5 separate regions of the Homo sapiens genome follow, and all the other regions are linked to region 4. Evidence: promoter capture Hi-C in 16 types of primary human blood cells and fetal thymus (Javierre and others, 2016). All regions are on one chromosome and are shown on one strand. Each heading gives the region's core, a stretch centred on a gene start or on the middle of the fragment in contact. The rest is flanking DNA. Distances are from core to core; before and after follow the strand shown. Region 1 has its middle 10 kb from the start of RBM3. Region 2 has its middle 32 kb from the start of SUV39H1. Region 3 holds the start of FOXP3 (forkhead box P3). Region 4 holds the start of HSD17B10 (hydroxysteroid 17-beta dehydrogenase 10). Region 5 holds the start of EBP (EBP cholestenol delta-isomerase).

What was found. Contacts are between HindIII fragments. The CHiCAGO score rates a contact against its expected background, and 5 or more counts as called.
Region 1: a fragment that was not itself captured here is called in contact with the fragment with the promoter of HSD17B10 in region 4 in 1 of 17 cell types (M0 macrophages); the score reaches 5.1 in M0 macrophages.
Region 2: a fragment that was not itself captured here is called in contact with the fragment with the promoter of HSD17B10 in region 4 in 1 of 17 cell types (neutrophils); the score reaches 5.8 in neutrophils.
Region 3: a contact is called between the fragment with the promoter of FOXP3 here and the fragment with the promoter of HSD17B10 in region 4, in 1 of 17 cell types (neutrophils). The highest score is 7.0, in neutrophils.
Region 5: the fragment with the promoter of EBP here is called in contact with the fragment with the promoter of HSD17B10 in region 4 in 2 of 17 cell types (neutrophils and monocytes); the score reaches 9.9 in neutrophils.

What each region holds. Positions count from the first base shown.
Region 1 is chrX:48,582,814-48,586,492 of GRCh38, reverse strand. It overlaps the pseudogene MRPL32P1. Among named protein-coding and RNA genes, the nearest start is that of RBM3, 10 kb to the right of the region's middle. The HindIII fragment of the contact is 972 bases long and covers 1,775-2,746 here.
Region 2 is chrX:48,727,172-48,731,022 of GRCh38, reverse strand. No RefSeq gene overlaps it. Among named protein-coding and RNA genes, the nearest start is that of SUV39H1, 32 kb to the right of the region's middle. The HindIII fragment of the contact is 4,400 bases long and covers 1-3,851 here.
Region 3 is chrX:49,262,228-49,265,977 of GRCh38, reverse strand. FOXP3 (forkhead box P3) reads left to right here and starts at 1,268. Exons shown (of 12, transcript NM_014009.4): 1 at 1,268-1,317. The HindIII fragment of the contact is 2,410 bases long and covers 1-2,394 here.
Region 4 is chrX:53,432,613-53,436,194 of GRCh38, reverse strand. HSD17B10 (hydroxysteroid 17-beta dehydrogenase 10) reads left to right here and starts at 1,825. Exons shown (of 6, transcript NM_004493.3): 1 at 1,825-1,876; 2 at 2,309-2,473. The coding sequence starts at 1,850. The HindIII fragment of the contact is 11,572 bases long and covers 530-3,582 here.
Region 5 is chrX:48,520,558-48,523,658 of GRCh38, reverse strand. EBP (EBP cholestenol delta-isomerase) reads right to left here and starts at 1,851. Exons shown (of 5, transcript NM_006579.3): 1 at 1,752-1,851. PORCN (porcupine O-acyltransferase) reads right to left here. Exons shown (of 15, transcript NM_203475.3): 15 at 2,851-3,101. RefSeq lists silencers at 1,567-1,746, 1,807-2,036, 2,951-3,010. The HindIII fragment of the contact is 9,622 bases long and covers 1,037-3,101 here.

The DNA.
Region 1 (3,679 bases), core at 1,011-3,510, 4.9 Mb after region 4:
AGACAACAAAAGCAAAAATAAACAGCCAGGTGTGGTGGCTCGCGCCTGTAATCCCAGCACTTTGGGAGGCCGAGGTGGGTGGATTGCCTGAGCTCAGGAGTTCGAGACCAGCCTGGCTGACATGGTGAAACTCCATCTATACTAAAAATACAAAAATTAGCCGGGCGTGGTGGTGCACACCTGTAGTTCCAGCTACTCAGGAGGCTGAGGCAGGAGAATCGCTTGAACCTGGGAGGCGGAGGTTGAGCCCGAGATCGTGCCACTGCACTCTAGCCTGGGCAAGACTCTGTGTTAAAAAAATAAGCAAGTGGGACTACATCAAACTAAAAAATTTCTGCACAGCAAAGGAAAAACAATCTACAAAATGAAAAGGCAACCTATGGAATGGAAGAAAATATTTTCAAACCATTTATCTTATAAGGGATTAATATCCAAAATATATAAGGAACTCATATAACTCAATAGCAAAACCCCAAATAAACTGATTTTAAAATAGCCAAAGTACCTGAAAAGACATTTCTCCAAAGAAAACATACAAATGGCCACCAGGTATACAAAAAGGGGCTCAACATCACTAATCATCAGGGAAATGCAAATCAAAACCACAATGAGATATCAACTCATACCTATTAGGATGGTCACTATAAAAATGAGGAAAGGACCAGACATGGTGGCTCATGCCTGTAGTCCCAGCACTTCGGGAGGCCGAGGCAGGTGGATTGCCTGAGCTCAGGAGTTCGAGACCAGCCTGGCTGACGTGGCAAAACCCCATCTCTACTTAAGGTACAAAAATTAGCTGGGTGTGGTGGTGGGCACCTGTAACACCAACTACTCGGGAGGCTGAGGCAGGAGAATCGCTTGAACCCAGGAGGCGGAGGTTGTAGTGAGCTGAGATTGCACCATTGCACTCCAGCCTGGGTGAGAGAGTGAGATTCCATGTCAAAAAAAAAAAAAAAAATAGGAAAGATAACAAGTGCTGAAGGGAACTCCTATACACTATTGTAGGAATGTAAATTAGTACAGCTAGTAGGGAAAATTGTGTGGAGGTTCCACAAAACATTAAAAATAAACTACCAAGTCCGGGCATGGTGGCTTATGCCTGTAATCCCAGCACTTTGGGAGGCCGAGGCGGGTGGATCATGAGGTCAGGAGATGGAGACCATCCTGGCTAACATGGTGAAACCCCGTCTCTACTATACAAAACATTAACCGGGCATGGTGGTGGGCGCCTGTAGTCCCAGCTACTCGGGAGGCTAAGGCAGGAGAATGGCGTGAACCCGGGAGGCAGAGCTTGCAGTGAGCCAAGATCGCACCACTGGACTCCAGCCTGGGCGACAGAACAAGACTCTGTCTAAAAAAATAATAATAATAAAAAAAAATAAACTACCATAGCATCCAGCAATCCTACTTCCAGGTATATATCCAAAAGTTATGAAATTACTATCTCAGAGATATATGCACTTCCATGTTCATTGTAGCATTACTCACAATAGCCAAAACGTGGAAACAACCCAAATGTCCATGGCAGATGAGTGGATAAAGTAAATGATGTGTATATGTACAGTGGAATATTATTCAGCCTTAAAAAAGGAAATTCTGCCATTTGCAACATGGATGGAGGACATTATGCTAAGTGAAATAAGCCACTCGTAGAAAGACAAGTACTGCATGATCTCACTTGTATCTGCAGCCTAAAAAAAGTCAAACTCATAGAAATGGAGTACAATGGTGGTTACTAAGGGCTGGGGGAATTTTTGGTCAATGGGTACAAGCTTTCAGTTATAACATGAGTAAGTTCTGGAGATCCAATGTACAGCATGGTGACTATAGTTAATAACACTGTGGTGTATACTTGAAATTGTCTAAGTAGATGATTAAGTGTTCTCATTTCACTCACAATAAAGGTAACTAAGGTGATAGATGTGTTAATTTGCTTTATTGTAGTGATCATTTTAAATGTGTATATTTATCAAACACCCTGTTATACATCTTTTTTTTTTTTTTTTGAGATGGAGTCTTACTTTGTTGCCCAGGCTGGAGTGCAGTGGCACGATCTCGGCTCAGTGCAACCTGCACCTCCTGGCTTCATGGAATTTCTCCTGCCTCAGCCTCCCGCGTAGCTGGGATTACAGGCATGCGCCACCATACCTGGCTAATTTTTGTATTTTTAGTAGAGATGGGGTTTCACCTTGTTGGCCAGGCTGGTCTCGAACTCCTGACCTCAAGTGATCCACCCACCTCGGCCTCCCAAAGTGCTGGGATTACAGGCGTGAGCCACTGCACCTGGCCTATACATCTTAAATATACTTTTTTTTTTTTTGGTTAACCACACCTCAAAAGAGCTGGGCAAAAAATTAATGTGAAAAGTTTCCATCAAAAAAGGACTAATAATCCAGAAAAGATTTGCTAAATAAGACTGGGCATGGTGGCTCACACCTGTAATCCTAGCACTTTTGGAGGCCAAGGTAGGAGGATTGCTTGAGTCCAGAAGTTTGAGACCATCCTGGACAACATAAATATAGTGAGACCCTGTCTCTACAAAAACCAAAAAAGATTATTGGGCATGGGTGATGCATCCCTGTAATTCCAGCTACTCTGGAGGCTGAGGTGGGGGGATTGCTTAAGCCTGGGAGGTCGAGGCTAGAGTGAGCTGTGATCATGCCACTGCATTCCAGCCTGGATGACAGAGCAAGATGTCATCTCAAAAAAAAAAAAAAAGTAAAAGAAAAGATTTGCTAAACAAGCTTATAGTAGGGGCATTAATTGATCTTATAGTGTGAATATTGACAGTGTGAATATAGGGTGAATATTACGCGGTTTTGTTTTGTTTTGTTTTGTTTTTTTATTGAGACAGGGTCTCGCTGTTACCCAGGCCAAAATGCCACTCACCGCAGCCTAGACCTTCCAGGCTCAAGCAGTCCTCCCACCTCAGCCTCCCAAGTAGCTAGGACCACAGGCGTGCACCATCACACCCGGCTAATTTTTATTTTGGTTTAACAGGGGCAGGGGGCAGGTGGCGGGTGCGCCTCACTGTGTTGCCCGGGTTGGTTTGGAACTTCTGGGTTCAAGCGTTCCTCCTGCCTCAGCCTCCTAAAGTGGTGGAATTACAGGTGTGAGCCACCGCACCCAGCCCAGATGTACTTACATTTAAAAAATATAGACATTTGTTCTGAATGTGATCACCTGTAACAGAAACATGTCCTTTGGGGCCACTGCTATGAGAAGGTGGGCAGGGACACTGCAGAAGTCAGACGACAGATAGGGAAACAAGAGGGCCCTTTTAAGGCTCCCACTGTAGAGACTATGGTGTTGTACATGGGAGCGACGCTGTCTGAACAAGATCAGGGTGAGGATCATAGAACGAGACAGGAAGCAGCCATCCTGGTTCACCCACAATTAACACCAAAGATGTTAAAAGGTTAAATTCACAGTAAATCATTTCTCCTGAAATAGAGGAAGATTCTGTCTTTATGTTGTTGTGCTTGTTTTTAAATCATCAATATAGTTTAACACATTCTAAGCAGTTTTGTGTGGGATAATTTGAAGGACATGGGTAAACTCTAAAAAATCTTTTCATGTTATCTATGATAACTAGCAAGGAAAATAGCTGGATGATGAGTAGGTGAACTTGCTTTCTCAAGTAGGCACATTCCCTAAGTAAAGGTTTTTGTATGAGTTA
Region 2 (3,851 bases), core at 560-3,059, 4.7 Mb after region 4:
CACAGTCCACACACGCTCTCCTGATTTCAGTCCCTTCCCCCTAATCCCACACCCCTTCTGAAAGTAGAATTCAGGGCTGGGGGAAGGGAAGCAAGCAATCCATATAAATGCCAGGGGCCAGTGTGGGCTTGGGACTGTCTCAGTTGGAACTTAGGAATCATGTGCACATGTTGTTTAATGTAAATGTATGTTGGGTTTAAGAAAGAGTAAACACTCCCCAGAATTGTGTCTTCATCTCTAGTAAATCCACAGTTTTACTTCAGTTGTTCTCTTGAGAACATGCATAATAGATTGTGCACCATGAGGCAAGGATGCACAGTGAGAAAAAACTTTGTTCCTCTTCTGAAAACTGTGCTTATGAGACGGGTTTATACATTTATGTGAGAGGCAGGGTATGAGCTCCAGAGAAAGACTTTAGGGGAGGATGCAGGGCCCCAGTAGCTCAAAGTAGTCTCAAGAGAAATAAAAAATAGTTTGGACTAAATGAAAATCAAAATAAAACTTACCAAATTTGTGGGATGCAGCAAAGCAGTACTTACCTAGAGGGAAATTTAAAAGGCACTTATGGCTTCTGCTGTACTTTTTCTTGGATCACTGACTAGTAGAAGCCAGCCATCATTCGAGGATGCTCAAGCAGCCAAAAGCCGGTAAATTTGGGGGTTATTTTTTATGTGGCAATAGATAACTCATAAGAGGTGTTTCTGAGCTCTTTGATGGTCTGTCTGGAGTTCGAGACTTTGGAGCTTTTTCGTGGTCTGTATCCATGCCATGATGTCTGGGTCTTTTGGGCATTCTATGTTTCGCATTTTTAAGTGACCTTTTGGGGTTCTCTCTCTAGGTTTTTAGATCTCTGAATTATTTGGGAATCTATGTCCCAAAGCATGGGGATTCTGGGCTGTTTTTTTCTGTTCATGTTCAGAACGTGATCAAGTCCAGAATTTGAATTATCTGAGCTCTCTGGCAGTCTGTTCTGGGTATGAGGTCACTGGGGTGTTTGGCAGTCTGTGTCCCAGGTTCACATCCATGCACTCTTTGGAGGACGGTGTATTGTTTCTGTTTATTCTTTGAGGTATATGGATTTCTAAGTCCCAGGAAGAGACATCACCAAGGTGACTGGATTCTGCATCCAGAACACTAGGTGTCAGCTGTTTGGGCCACTGAGTCCCTGGATATGAAGTCTTTAATGTGTTTGAGAACCTGTGTCCCGACTTTGATATTTCTGAGTTTGAGGGCAGAGGGAATCAGTACTCTGCACTGTTTATGAGTATATATCTCAGGATGTAAGGCTCCCAAACTGTTTGTGAGTATCCCTGACATTTATGTCACAGTATATGAGATCTCTGTTCATGGGTGTATATACCAGGGTGTAAGGTATCTGAGCCCTTTGATCGTGTGTGTCCAAAGTTGTGGGGTCTCTAATCTGTTTGAGTCTATATTTCCCAGAATAAGAGATTTCTGATTTTTTTGTGGGTATATATTCCAAGATGTGAGTTCTGTGATCCATTTGGAAGTATATTTGAGGTTTCCGTTCTGTTTGTGGGTATATGTCCAATGGTGTAAGGTTTCCAATGTGCTTGTGAGTATTCATCCCAGGGTATGAGGCCTCTGATCTGCTTGTCATTATACAATGACAAGATGTGAGGTCTCTCTTCATGAATGCATGTCAAGGGTTTGAGGTCTCTGATCTGTTTTTGGTTTTATGTCCCGGAATGTTAGATCTCTGATCTCTTTGTGGGTGTATGTGCCAAGGTGTGAGTCTCAGCTTTTTGTGGCTATATTTCCCTAGATGTTATATTTCTGAGCTTTTCTGGTTGTATTTTTTTAGGGATGTCAGTACTTTAATCTGTTTATTTGGTGTGTGTTGGAGAATATGAGGACTATTCTGTCTGAGGGTGTATGTCCTAGGGCATGAGGTCTCTGCTATGACTGTGGGTGTACATCTCTGGGTATGAGGTCTCCAAAATGTTTGTGGGTATATTTCCCAGGATGTGAGTTCCCTGAGCTCCTAGTGGGTGCATGTAAGGTCTCAGATCTGTTTATCCCTGTATATGTTCCTGTATATGTGAAGTGTCAAGGGTATGAAGTCTCTGATATTTTTGTGGCTATATGTTCCAGGATATGAGGTTTCTAATCTGTTTGGGGGTGGATTGCTCAGAGTGAGTTCTCAAGTATGTTTGTGGTTATATGAGCTAGGATTTAAGTATCTGATCTTTTTGGGTGTGTAAGTCCCATGGTGTGAAGTCTCTGAGCTCTTTGATGGTATATATGCAGAGGTGTGAGATGTCTGATTTGTTTGGTGGTATATTTCCCAGGATGTGAGGTCTCTGATCCATTTGTTGCTGTATACTAGTATGTGATTTTCATTGGTGTATGTCAAAGTCAGTTTGTTGGTGTATTTCTCAGGATATGAGGTCTCTGGTCTGTTTCTGGATGTATGTTCCCAAGTAAGAAGTCTCTGATCCATGTGCCCACATATGTCTCTGTATGTAAGGTCTCTGATCTGTTCATGGATACACTGAGTTTGAGATCTTTCATCTGGTTGCAGGACAGGCAAGCCCCAAAGTTGAGGCTTAGCTCAGGAGGGTTCTTGGCTTTGCCTAGGAAGGAATTCAAGAGTGAGCTGGTGGTGTTAAATAGCAGCTTTTATTGAAGCGGCAGTGTATAGCAGGAGCAGATGTGCTGCTCCTTGCAGAGAAGAGCTACCCATAGGCAGTATGCCCAAAGTAGCAGCTCAGAGGCCGTTCTGCAGTCATATTTATGCCCACCTTTTAGTTACATGCAAATTAAGGGATGGTTTATGCAGAAATTTTAGGTATCTGGGCTATTTCTGCAAGTATGTCCCAGGATGTGAGGTTGAGGTCTCTGACATGTTTGTAGATGTATTTACTAGAATAGAAGATCTCTGACATGTTTGTGGATGTATGTCCCAGTGTGTGAGGTCACTGATCTGATCTGTGTTTGTGCATGTATGTCCCAGGATTTTAGGTCTGTGATGTGTTTGTCATTGTAATTATCAGTATGTGAAGCATCTTTCATGGGTATATGCTAAGAATAGAAGTTCTCTGATATGATTGTGATTGTATGAACCTAGGTATGAGTTCTCTTATCTGTTTGTGGAGTATGTCCCACAGTGAGAGGTTCCTGAGCTGGTTGGGGGTTTATTTACTAGGATATAAGGCTTATGACCTTTTTCTTGTTGTGTGTGAGGTCCGTGGCTATCGTTGTATCATTGTGTATCCTGGTATGTGAGATCTTTTTCATGGGTGCATGTAAAAAATGTAAGGTCTCTGATCTATTTGTGATTATATGTCCCTGCATATTAGGTCTCTGATCAGTTTGTGGATTTAATTCCTACAGTTTGGCATCATCAATCTGTTTGCAGGTGTATGTCCCATGATGTAATGTCTGATCTTTTCGAGGATGTGTGAGGTATTTCATCTATTCCTCAGTGTGTTTCCAAACATGAGGTCTCTCAACTGTGTGACAGTGTATGTTCTGTGATTTGAGGCCCCTATTTTTTTTTTACAGGTTTATTCCCAAGGATATGAACTCTCCTGTCTCTTTTGGGTGGTATGTCACAATTTGAGAGGACTGATTCATTTCTGAGTTGATTTCCCAGTATGTGAAGTCTCTGATCTGTTTGTGGTATATACTGCAGAATTTAATTTTTATTTATTTATTTATTTATTTAAGATGGCGTCTCGCTCTGTCGCCCAGGCTGGAGTGCAGTGGCGCGATCTCGACTCACTGCAGCCTCTGCCTTCTGGGTTCAAGCGATTCTCCTGCCTCAGCCTCCTGTGTAGCTGGGATTACAAGCATGCACCACCATACCCGGCCAATTTTTGTATTGT
Region 3 (3,750 bases), core at 19-2,518, 4.2 Mb after region 4:
CAGCACCAAAGAAAGCGGGACCCACACTCGCCAGCTCTGTGATCTTGGGCAAGTTGCTTGACTACTTATACCTCCGTTTCCCTCATCTGTATAACAGGAATACAATAATGATGAGATGGAGCTCAAGGGGCCATGGTGAGGATTGAACATGATCACTTGTGAGACATGTTCAGCACTGTATCTGACCCATGGAAAATTCAAGATAAACATCAGCTACTGAGATGATGGCGGATATTTGGAATCCTAAATCCTTGGAAACTGGGGCTTTTTGAAGTAAAAGACCCCAAAGGCTGAGGGCCTCAGAAGCATCAGGCCATGATGTTCCTGAAACAAGAGGGTCAGGGTCCCAATGGGCCTCTGGGGTTCATCGTGAGGATGGATGCATTAATATTGGGGACCTGCTAGGGACCTTCCCAGTGGGACAGTGGCTGGGTCAGGGCACTCAAGCCCTAAAACGTGATGAGGCGAGACTTTTCTCTCTTTCCTCATTCAGTAACTGTCAGTAGATTCTGGGAGCCAGGGATTCTCCGACTCTTCAAGTCCATGAATTTTAGGGGATGACAGTGGGCTCTCCGCTTTCTCCTCCATGAAGTAACTTACATGCCCCTCACCCTCTGTGGGAGGGGTGTTGCAGGGGGTGCAGAACTCCCCTCGCCGGGTAGTTCAAGCAATGGGGACCATATCAATTCCATCTATAGGGAAACTGAGGCCTGGAGTAGGGCGAGGCCTCTGGGAACCCAGCCCTATTCTGTCTCTTTCCCTGGCATTTCCCATCCACACATAGAGCTTCAGATTCTCTTTCTTTCCCCAGAGACCCTCAAATATCCTCTCACTCACAGAATGGTGTCTCTGCCTGCCTCGGGTTGGCCCTGTGATTTATTTTAGTTCTTTTCCCTTGTTTTTTTTTTTTCAAACTCTATACACTTTTGTTTTAAAAACTGTGGTTTCTCATGAGCCCTATTATCTCATTGATACCTCTCACCTCTGTGGTGAGGGGAAGAAATCATATTTTCAGATGACTCGTAAAGGGCAAAGAAAAAAACCCAAAATTTCAAAATTTCCGTTTAAGTCTCATAATCAAGAAAAGGAGAAACACAGAGAGAGAGAAAAAAAAAACTATGAGAACCCCTCCCCACCCCGTGATTATCAGCGCACACACTCATCGAAAAAAATTTGGATTATTAGAAGAGAGAGGTCTGCGGCTTCCACACCGTACAGCGTGGTTTTTCTTCTCGGTATAAAAGCAAAGTTGTTTTTGATACGTGACAGTTTCCCACAAGCCAGGCTGATCCTTTTCTGTCAGTCCACTTCACCAAGGTGAGTGTCCCTGCTCTCCCCTACCAGATGTGGGCCCCATTGGAGGAGATGGCAGGGAGGTAGGCACGGCGGGGGGGTCAGGGGCCCTCTGGTACAGTGGGATGTACCCAGCTACCGTGATTCCAGCCAGGTAAGGTCTTTAAAAAAATAATAGAATAAATGGCAGAAGACTTAAAGGTGAAGTACTTAATGCATGGGCAGGGGCAAAAATAAATGAATTCATCAATTGATACGTAGATGGATAGGATTTTTAAAATATGTCAGCTGCCAGTCTTTATGGATTTCAGAGCTTTGAACAACTTGAAATGCTGTCCAGGTGCAACTGAAAATTTCAACTGCATCTCTCTCATCTCTTTGTCTCTTAGCTCTTGATGCCTCTCATCCTTCTCTGTCTCTCTGCTCACCCTGTCTTGCTCTTTTACATGTTTCTCTGCCTCTCTTTCTCCCGCCATCTGTCTGTCGCTACACTCAGACTCTCTTTCCCCGCATCTCTCCTGGCCTCTGACCATCTCCCCTATCTCTGTCTCCTCCATCTTGACCACACTCCATCGATCTCCTTTCCTCCATCTCTCCCGCTCTCTTTTCTTGCCTTCCCCCACCTGCCTTCCCAGCCAGCATCCAGCCTAGAGCTTTGTACACAGCTGGCGTTTAATAATAGTAATGTCGCCGAGGACCTTTACATTTTATGAGAGTGAGCATCAGTTCTGTTCACCCTAGTAGCAGGAGGATTGCAAGGTGCCGGGGCAAGCTGAGCACTTAACTGAACTTTGCTTGTATCGCTTTAGAGGAGACCCTTGGGGCGGGGGGGCAGGGAGCACTTCACACCATTGTCAACCGTAGTTTAGCTGTGTGGACCTACCCCAGGACTGCATGTGTGTGACCAGAGTCCATATTCAGGAAGCAAACAGGTTGTTCAGGGCTGGGGTGAGCTCGATTCTGCAGGCTTAGCACAGCGTTTGGCACAAAGTAAGTGCTCACGAAGTGTTAGCTATTAGTATTTCTGTAACCAAATTAGAATCATGCTATATATTGGTTTTGTTCCTGCTTTATTCAATTAACAGTAGTGTTTTTGAAGCTTACTAAAAATTGTTTGAACACATGATCTTTCATGATGGACAAGACTGTCCTCACATCAGCATGAACTTTGATTGATTTGACCAAGTGCCGATTGTTGGACATTCCGGTTGTTTCTCGTTTTTTTCTATAAACATCCCTGACTGCTTCCTTGGATTCCTGAAAAGGGAGTTGCTGGGGCAAAGGGGGCGTGCATTTTTAAAGTTTATGACCCTCTCTGCTAATTCTCCTTCCAAAAGGTTGTCCTATTTTATGCTCCCTCTACTTAAGCTAACCCTAGGTGAGTATTATTATGTTTTAATTATTTCCCAACATGACAGGTAAGAAAAACACATTATCACATTGTTGAAATTTGCATCTTGTGATTACTTTTACTATTCATTGGCCATTCATGCTTTTTTTTTTTTTTTTTTGGTTGTCTGGTCATGTCCTTACTCCTAATAGGGTGTTCATCTTATTTTTCCCTTATTGATTTGCCACAGCTCTTTATTTGGAATGGTTATTAACCTTTCATCAGCCATTACATATATAGCAAATATTTTCCCCAATTCATCATTTGCTTTTTTTCTATTTGTTTATGGTGTTTTTTGTGATGCTTATGATGGTTTTATACAGTCAAATAGGTTAGTCTTTTTTTCTGTGGCTTCTGTCTCTGGTTTTGTGCTTAGAAAGTCCTTTCCTACTTGAAAATGAGATAAATGTTCACCTATGTTGGCTTCTAGTCTCTTTTATGGCTTCATTTTTTCCATTTACTATAGAGGTTAAGAGTGTGGGTACTGGAGCCAGACTGTCTGGGACAAACCCAGCGTCACCCCAAGCCCTATGTGTGATTTTTAGCCAGGCACTTAACCTCTCCATACCTCCATTTCCTCATATGTACTGCAATGGTTATAATAGTACCTTCCTCAGGAGTCTTTGTTTAGATTAAAATTTTTAACCACAGTAAATACTTAGCACAAGGCCTGACACACAATAAACCCAAGATCAGCATTAGGTGTTAAAACTTATATCTTGAATGGATCTGGGCATTTTAGGGTATATGATGATGGTGACATTTCAAACTGGGCAGGGAGGGGTTGTTGGGATAATGGACTGACTATTCACTCAATAACTTTATCTTCTCCCTAATTATCTCAGACACATTTGTTAAACCATACTCCATGGTCCTCCAGTTTGAAATGCCACATTCATCACAAATTCAGTTCTCTCCATATGTGGGTCCATGTCCAAGCTTTCTATTCTGTTCTCTTCCCCAGTATCTGTTCTTATACCAGGGCCACACTGTTTTGCTGATTGTTGCTTTGCAATACAATTCAATACCCAGCCATGGGTGTCCCTGGCACCTTGCCCTTCTTTATT
Region 4 (3,582 bases), core at 576-3,075:
CTTCCAGCAGGGGGAGAACTACACAAACAAGGCCAGGTTAGCGGAGCATGCAGGCTCACAAGCCTGTAGGCACAATCCTGCAATGCCAAAACTTCTGAAAAGCATAAGGTTGTTTTTTCATACTTTGGAGCCCAAACTCAATAGATGACAAAACCTGACCTGAAGTAGTGTGAGGCTATTTATAGTCTTTATTCACACTTGGTGTGAATTTTCATACCTTTCACTTCAGAAATATTAATATTTCATTACGATGCTCCAGGCTTTTCTCAATAGTTATATAATATAGACTATACAAAAAGTTATGTTTGACTAGTTTTTTTAAAGAGTTATGTAATATAAATTACATGTCTTCCTTTCTCAAATTGAAAAAAACTCTGAATTCCACAGCACATCTGGCCCTAAGGTTGGAAAATGGATTACGGACATGCAAGTGCTATGAAGATAATTCAAATATGCAATGGGATAGTGTCTAGGTGGCTACAGTTTGAATATTTAGGGAGGACCCCTCTGGGAAGGTGATATTTAAGCTTAGTTCTGAATGAAAAAAAATAAAAGCAGTCATGCAAAGATCAGGGGAGAGCATTCCAAGCAGAGGGAGCAGCTAATGCAAAGATGAACACAAAGGAGGCCACTGTGGCTACAGCATATTGGGCCGGATGAAGAGTGCTATAAATTGATGGAAGCACTTCATGTAGATAGGAAAATTGTGAGACCGGTGTGCTAAATCCTTTGGTAAATACGGTGTAGTGATTATGAGTGTGGTGGCTGTCAACAACTAGAAGGCCTGGAGGGGAATCTTCCTGGGTGAGAAAGCAAGTGGGGGGAGATATTTCAGATAGAGAAAACATAAAGCAGTTCTGAGGCTGAAATGGTGGGCTAAGATTTATGGCCTGAAGACCTTGGTTTGAGGAAAAGTATAGAAGGAAGACAGATTAGATATCTGGGCTCAAGACTCTAATGACATAGCTTCTGGAAGCTGCCTGAAAGATGTTCTAGGATGACAAAGACCTGGGTCTTAAATAATAGTCTCTGGTTGAAGTCCAATCTGCAGTGTGTGATCTGGGCTTTTGGACTTAAATTAGACAAAGATAGAGGAGAGTAGCAAAGCCTGAACTGATGAAAGATGTTTTTGCCTCTTTAGGTTTGTGCTTCTCAGCAGCTGTCCTAGAATGTCTGTCTCCAAGCATCTCTCTTAGCGGCTTTCCACATTCATCTCTCTGTGATCCTACCTGGCATCTCTCTTCCTATCTCGGCCTCAACATATTTCTCTTTACATGGCTCTCTCTCTCTCTAACTCAGACTCCTCATCTTTGGATCTCCTTGTCTGAGTGTCCCAGAATCTGGTTCCGTCCATTCGTCTGTGTCTGTACTGTAATTCTCTTTCTCCACCTGGACTGTGCCCTCCTGGAAGGCATGAATCTTTTATTATTCCGCTGGGTATCCCAGGTGCCCCGCACACCGTCTAGCATATAGGAGTCTCAAATACATTCATACTTGAATTAAGACTTTTTCAGAGGAGAAAGGCATCCGTTCTCAATATCCACCCCTCTTCCCCCACGCGGAGCAGGCCACTTGCCAAAAGGCCAGCTAGAGAGTAGGGCGAGGGGTGTTGTGGTATTGTACTTCTGCTATTGGTCTCTTTCCCCAGTTGAAATAACTCTGGGGATACCTTAGCAGGCGGAATCCGCCCTCTGGCCAAAGGACTAGCGTACCAGGCCACGCCCCCACGTCTCATGCGGCAGCGGCAGACGCCCCGGCCCGTCGCATCCGCCCCTTCCGCCGCTTCGCCTCGGCCAATCAACGAGCGCCCGCGCCCCCATCCCCATCCCGTGGAGTGGCCGGCGACAAGATGGCAGCAGCGTGTCGGAGCGTGAAGGTAGAAGGTTCTTTGCCTCTGTTGCTTGCCTTCCTTTACGGGCCGGGACAGCGCGGCCGTGGAACTAGGAGAAAGAGATCGGTTTCGAGGGAAAGGGTCATGCTTATGTAGGCCTGGTATTGTGGCCGTTGGGCTCAAGAGGTGAAAGTCAGCACTCCGCGGCGCATCTGTCTGTCTGTCTGTCTGTCTATCTATCTATCTATCAATCATCTATCTATCTATCGTCACGGGACGGGCTGTCTGGGGATGAGATCCCTTCTGCCCCCGAGGTCCCAACGCTGAGGAGAAGCAGCACACCTAGTTTACCCGCAGGGGTGACCACGACCTCTCCCCTCCCCCCTTCTCCTCAGAAGCCTGGAGAACAGGCAGGCGACAGCGTGGGGATGGTCTGGGCAATGTAACAGCTGACCCTGACCATGTCCCTTTTGACAGGGCCTGGTGGCGGTAATAACCGGAGGAGCCTCGGGCCTGGGCCTGGCCACGGCGGAGCGACTTGTGGGGCAGGGAGCCTCTGCTGTGCTTCTGGACCTGCCCAACTCGGGTGGGGAGGCCCAAGCCAAGAAGTTAGGAAACAACTGCGTTTTCGCCCCAGCCGACGTAAGTGGGGTCACCTCTCCTCTCCCAGGGTGTGCATGAGGTCACCAACACCGGCCTGGGAACCTGTGGGGGTCCCTCCCATAAGGGTCTCCTCTATGGGGGCGGTAGACCCATCTCCTTGTCTCTTTTGGCCTGAGCCTTCAAGCACTGTGGGACCACCTGTGATAAGGATTCTCTAAAGCTGGGATTCACAACAATGAGGATGGGGATTGGACGTAACAATCTCCTGGAGGAGTTATGTATGGTTTGAAAATGCATTTTGTGCCTTGTAATTTTATATTTACAAAGTCAAAAAACTTGTTTTCATGAAACAAACTACAGAAAGTGAAACTTGATGAAATCATCTTAGCAGGTAAGGATACAAAAAAGCTAGTTTATCTTCCTATCAATAATTCTCACAAGAGGGTTATTTTTTATTTTTATTTTTGAGATGGAGTCTCGCTCTGTTGCCCAGGCTGGAGTGCAGTGGCACAATCTCAGCTCCTTGCAACCTCCATCTTCTGGGTTCAAGCGATTTTCCTGCCTCAACCTCCCAAGTAGCTGGGATTACAGGCACCTGCCACCACGCCCAGCTAATTTTTTTTTTTGTATTTTTAGAAGAGATGGGGTTTCACCATGTTGGCCGGGCTGGTCTTGAACTCCTGATCTCACGTGATCCGCCCGCCTCGGCCTCCCAAAGTGCTGGGATTACAGGTGTGAGCCACTGCACCCAGCCTCACAACAGGGTTGCATTAGTGCTCTGATCCACAGCAATTAAGAATCTTCAGGAGCATGTGAATTTATCAAGAAGGTATTGATTTGAAAAATGTTTTTGCAACACTGCTCTATATTACCTAATATTTTCACCTTTGACCTACTCTCTCAATTTTTTTTTTTGGGACAGAGTCTCACTGTTGCCCAGGCTGCAGTGCAATGGCACGATCTCAGCTCACTGCAACCTCTGCCTCCCGGGTTCAAGCGATTCTTCTGCCTCAGCCTTCCAAGTAGCTGGGATTACAGGCATGTGTCACTATGCCGGCTAATTTTGTATTTTTAGTAGAGACGGGTTTTCACCACGTTGGCCAGGCTGGTCTCAAACTCCTGATCTTAAGTGATCCACCAGCCTCGGC
Region 5 (3,101 bases), core at 602-3,101, 4.9 Mb after region 4:
ATTCAAATAGTTTATTATCATGAGAAATGTAAATGGACCGAATTTACCAGTTAACAGACAGGATTGTAACACTTCTAATTACATTCCGTTTTTTTTTTTTTTTTTCAGACGGAGTCTTGCTCTGTCACCCAGGCTGGAGTGGAGTGGTGCGACCTCGGCTCACTGCAACCTCTGCCTTCCGGGTTCAAACGATTCTCCTGCCTCAGCCTCCCGAGTAGCTGGGACTACAGGTGCCTGCCACCACGCCCAGCTAATTTTTTGTATTTTTAGTAGAGACGGGGTTTCACCGTGTTAGCCAGGATGGTCTTGATCTCCTGACCTCACGATCCGCCCGCCTCAGCCTCCCAAAGTGCTGGGATTACAGGCGTGAGCCACTGCGCCCGGCCTACATTCTGTTTTAAGACCATGACTAAAGGCCAGGCACCGTGGCAGGTAATTCCAGTGCTTTGGGAGGCTGATGCAGGAGCAGCACCTGAGGCCAGGAATTCAAGTCCGGCCTGGGCAACACAGCGAAACTGTCTCTAAAAAAATAAGAAAATCAGTCAGGTGTGGTGACAAAGGCCTGTAGTCCCAGCTAGTAGGTAGGCTGAGGCAGGAGGATCGCTTTGAGCCCAGGACTTCAAGGCTGAAGTGAGCAGTGACCACATCACTGCCCTCCAGTCTGAGACTCTGCCTCTAAAAAAGAAGGCCGGGCGCGGTGGCTCACGCCTGTAATCCCAGCACTTTGGGAGGCCAAGACGAGTGGACCACTTGAGCTCAGGAGTTCAAGACCAGCCCGGCCAACATGGCAAAACCCCGTCTCTACTAAAAATACAAAAATTAGCCAGGTGTGGTGGCGTGCGCCTGTAGTTACAGCTACTCAGGAGGCTGAGGCAGGAGAATCGCTTGAACCTGGGAGGCAGAGGCTGCAGTGAGCCGGGGTCATGCCACTGCACTCCAGCCTGGGCAACAGAGCGAGACTCTGTCTCAAAATAAAATAAAAAAGAAAAGAAAAAGAACATGACTGAAACACAAGGCCACAGAAAGGCTGAAAGCTTGTTCCAGCCCTTTAGAAGCCATATTATGATGTGGTAGAAACAGTCCCGGTCTCAGCCCTCGGGGGTCAAAGTCTGGTGGGAGGCACATGGGAACAACACCTGATCCCAGCCCTCCCTGGTCACAGTCTGGCGAGGGAGATACAGGACCAGGCCTGGTGTCTTCCTTCAAGGGTCACAAACTGCTCACGACCACCAAACCCAGTCCTGTGCTCCGGGGTCACGGTTTGGTAAGAGACACAGGAACCAGGCGTGGTCCAGTTGCACAGGTCAGCGTCTTAAACCGTTCAACAAAAAGCTATTCCCTCCCCCACGTAGTCCTGAAAACTGCAACTGGGGGACAGAGGAAAGAAAACGAATCAGAACTACAACCCTCGGTGCCAGCGTTTGGAAAGCCAGAGCCTCCCCGCGAGAGCGTGCAACGCCGTCAACCTGCAGGGAAGAGACGGATATTGAAAGGCCGGTGTCTGGCGTGCAGCGCTAGAACGGAACACAAAGCCGGTCAATCCGAACCAGAACCCTCCAGTCCCGCTGCCCAATGAGAAGACGGATCTTCTGTCCTCTGGACAACCGTGCGGTAGCTGGGGGTCTCGCGCAGGCGCAAAAGGGCGGTGGGGGGGGCGGGTGGCAAAGGGTCTCGCGCTGGCACGCCGAGGGCTGGCCGCGTAGCCGGGGAGAGCTGGGGGAGGGAGCAGGGGCCGGGTGGAGGGCACTCACCAAGGCGCGCGACGGCAGCGGCCTCCCACGCTGGCTCCGGGCTCTCTTTAGGCTGGGTCTCGCGCTCTGTCACATCCCTAGTTCGGGCTCATCCCCTAGTGGGTTCTCTTGCCTTACGGAGCGAGCCAATGGTGAAGCGAAGAAGGCGGCCCGTGCCGCTCCCAACCAATAGACACTCTCTTTGTACCTCTAGCCCCGCCCCCGCGCGTGGCGCCATTTTCACCTGAGTTAGGTTTGGGGTGGAGACTGGGACGCGCCAAGGTTAGTGGGCGTTTTGGATCCGTAGCCAATCTGCATCGAGTCCTGGCTTCAATTTCCCCATTCCCTTATCAGTCGATCAAAACGGGGACTCATTAAGGTCTGTACCCGCTTCTTCCGCTGGTGAAATTAGCGTTGCGTTGCATCCTTTCACCTCCGCCCTTTTCTAGGTAGAGTAACCCTTAGTATAATGCAACGAAACTGTTACAAGCAGATCACACGCTATACACTGCAACCACCCCCTCCCCAGCTCTTCAGTGCTCAGAACTCCTCAGTCCTAATAGCAGCGGTCATTCTCTCTTCTCCCGACCTCAAGTCAGAAGAACTAGTTAGAACCCAGGCCTCTCAGTCCTACTGACCAATTGGCATGAAGACCCTCAATCTCCATATGCCAGTTCTAAAAAGCCAATCAAACGCCTAACCACCAGTGGGCCCCCAGATGGAGCAATCAATCAGAATCCAGACCCATCCCAGACCTCCCATCCAATTAGAACCCACAACCCTCAGTCCTAAGGATAAATAGGCACCAACCCTTCATCTCTCTTGCTTTCTCTCCTCTGTGTCCCACTCAGAGCAACCAATCAGAATGGGGATCCTTCAGTTTTCCAGCCAATCAGGCCTCCCCCACATCCAACTATGCAATCTGTCCCTGCCCTGATCAAACCAAGCAGGACCAGGATCCTGCCATCTTCAGGCTCATCATCTAATCAATCATAAACTAACCATGAACCAATCACAGTCTGCTCTCTCTTCATGGTTTCCAGCTTCCAAACCTTTATCCATGCTGTGCTCCCTTCCTCACTCATTCCTATTCCCCTCTGAGCAGTGAAGAAGAAGCCTATTGAATATTTCCTACTTTTATTTGACAATAACAAATTGTATATAAAAAGGAAGAAGGAAGGCGGGGAGGCCCTGGATCTCCCCTTCTCTGTTTCCCCAAGCATCCCCCTCTAGGCCCCAGCAGGCACCACCCCCTTCCTGCCTTGTGGTGGGGTGGGGATTGACAGGCATGAAAATGGTGTGATTTTGTGTGTGTGTGTGTGTGTGTGTGTTGAGGTGTTGGGGGTCAAGGATGGAGGGGGTCAAGGAGTA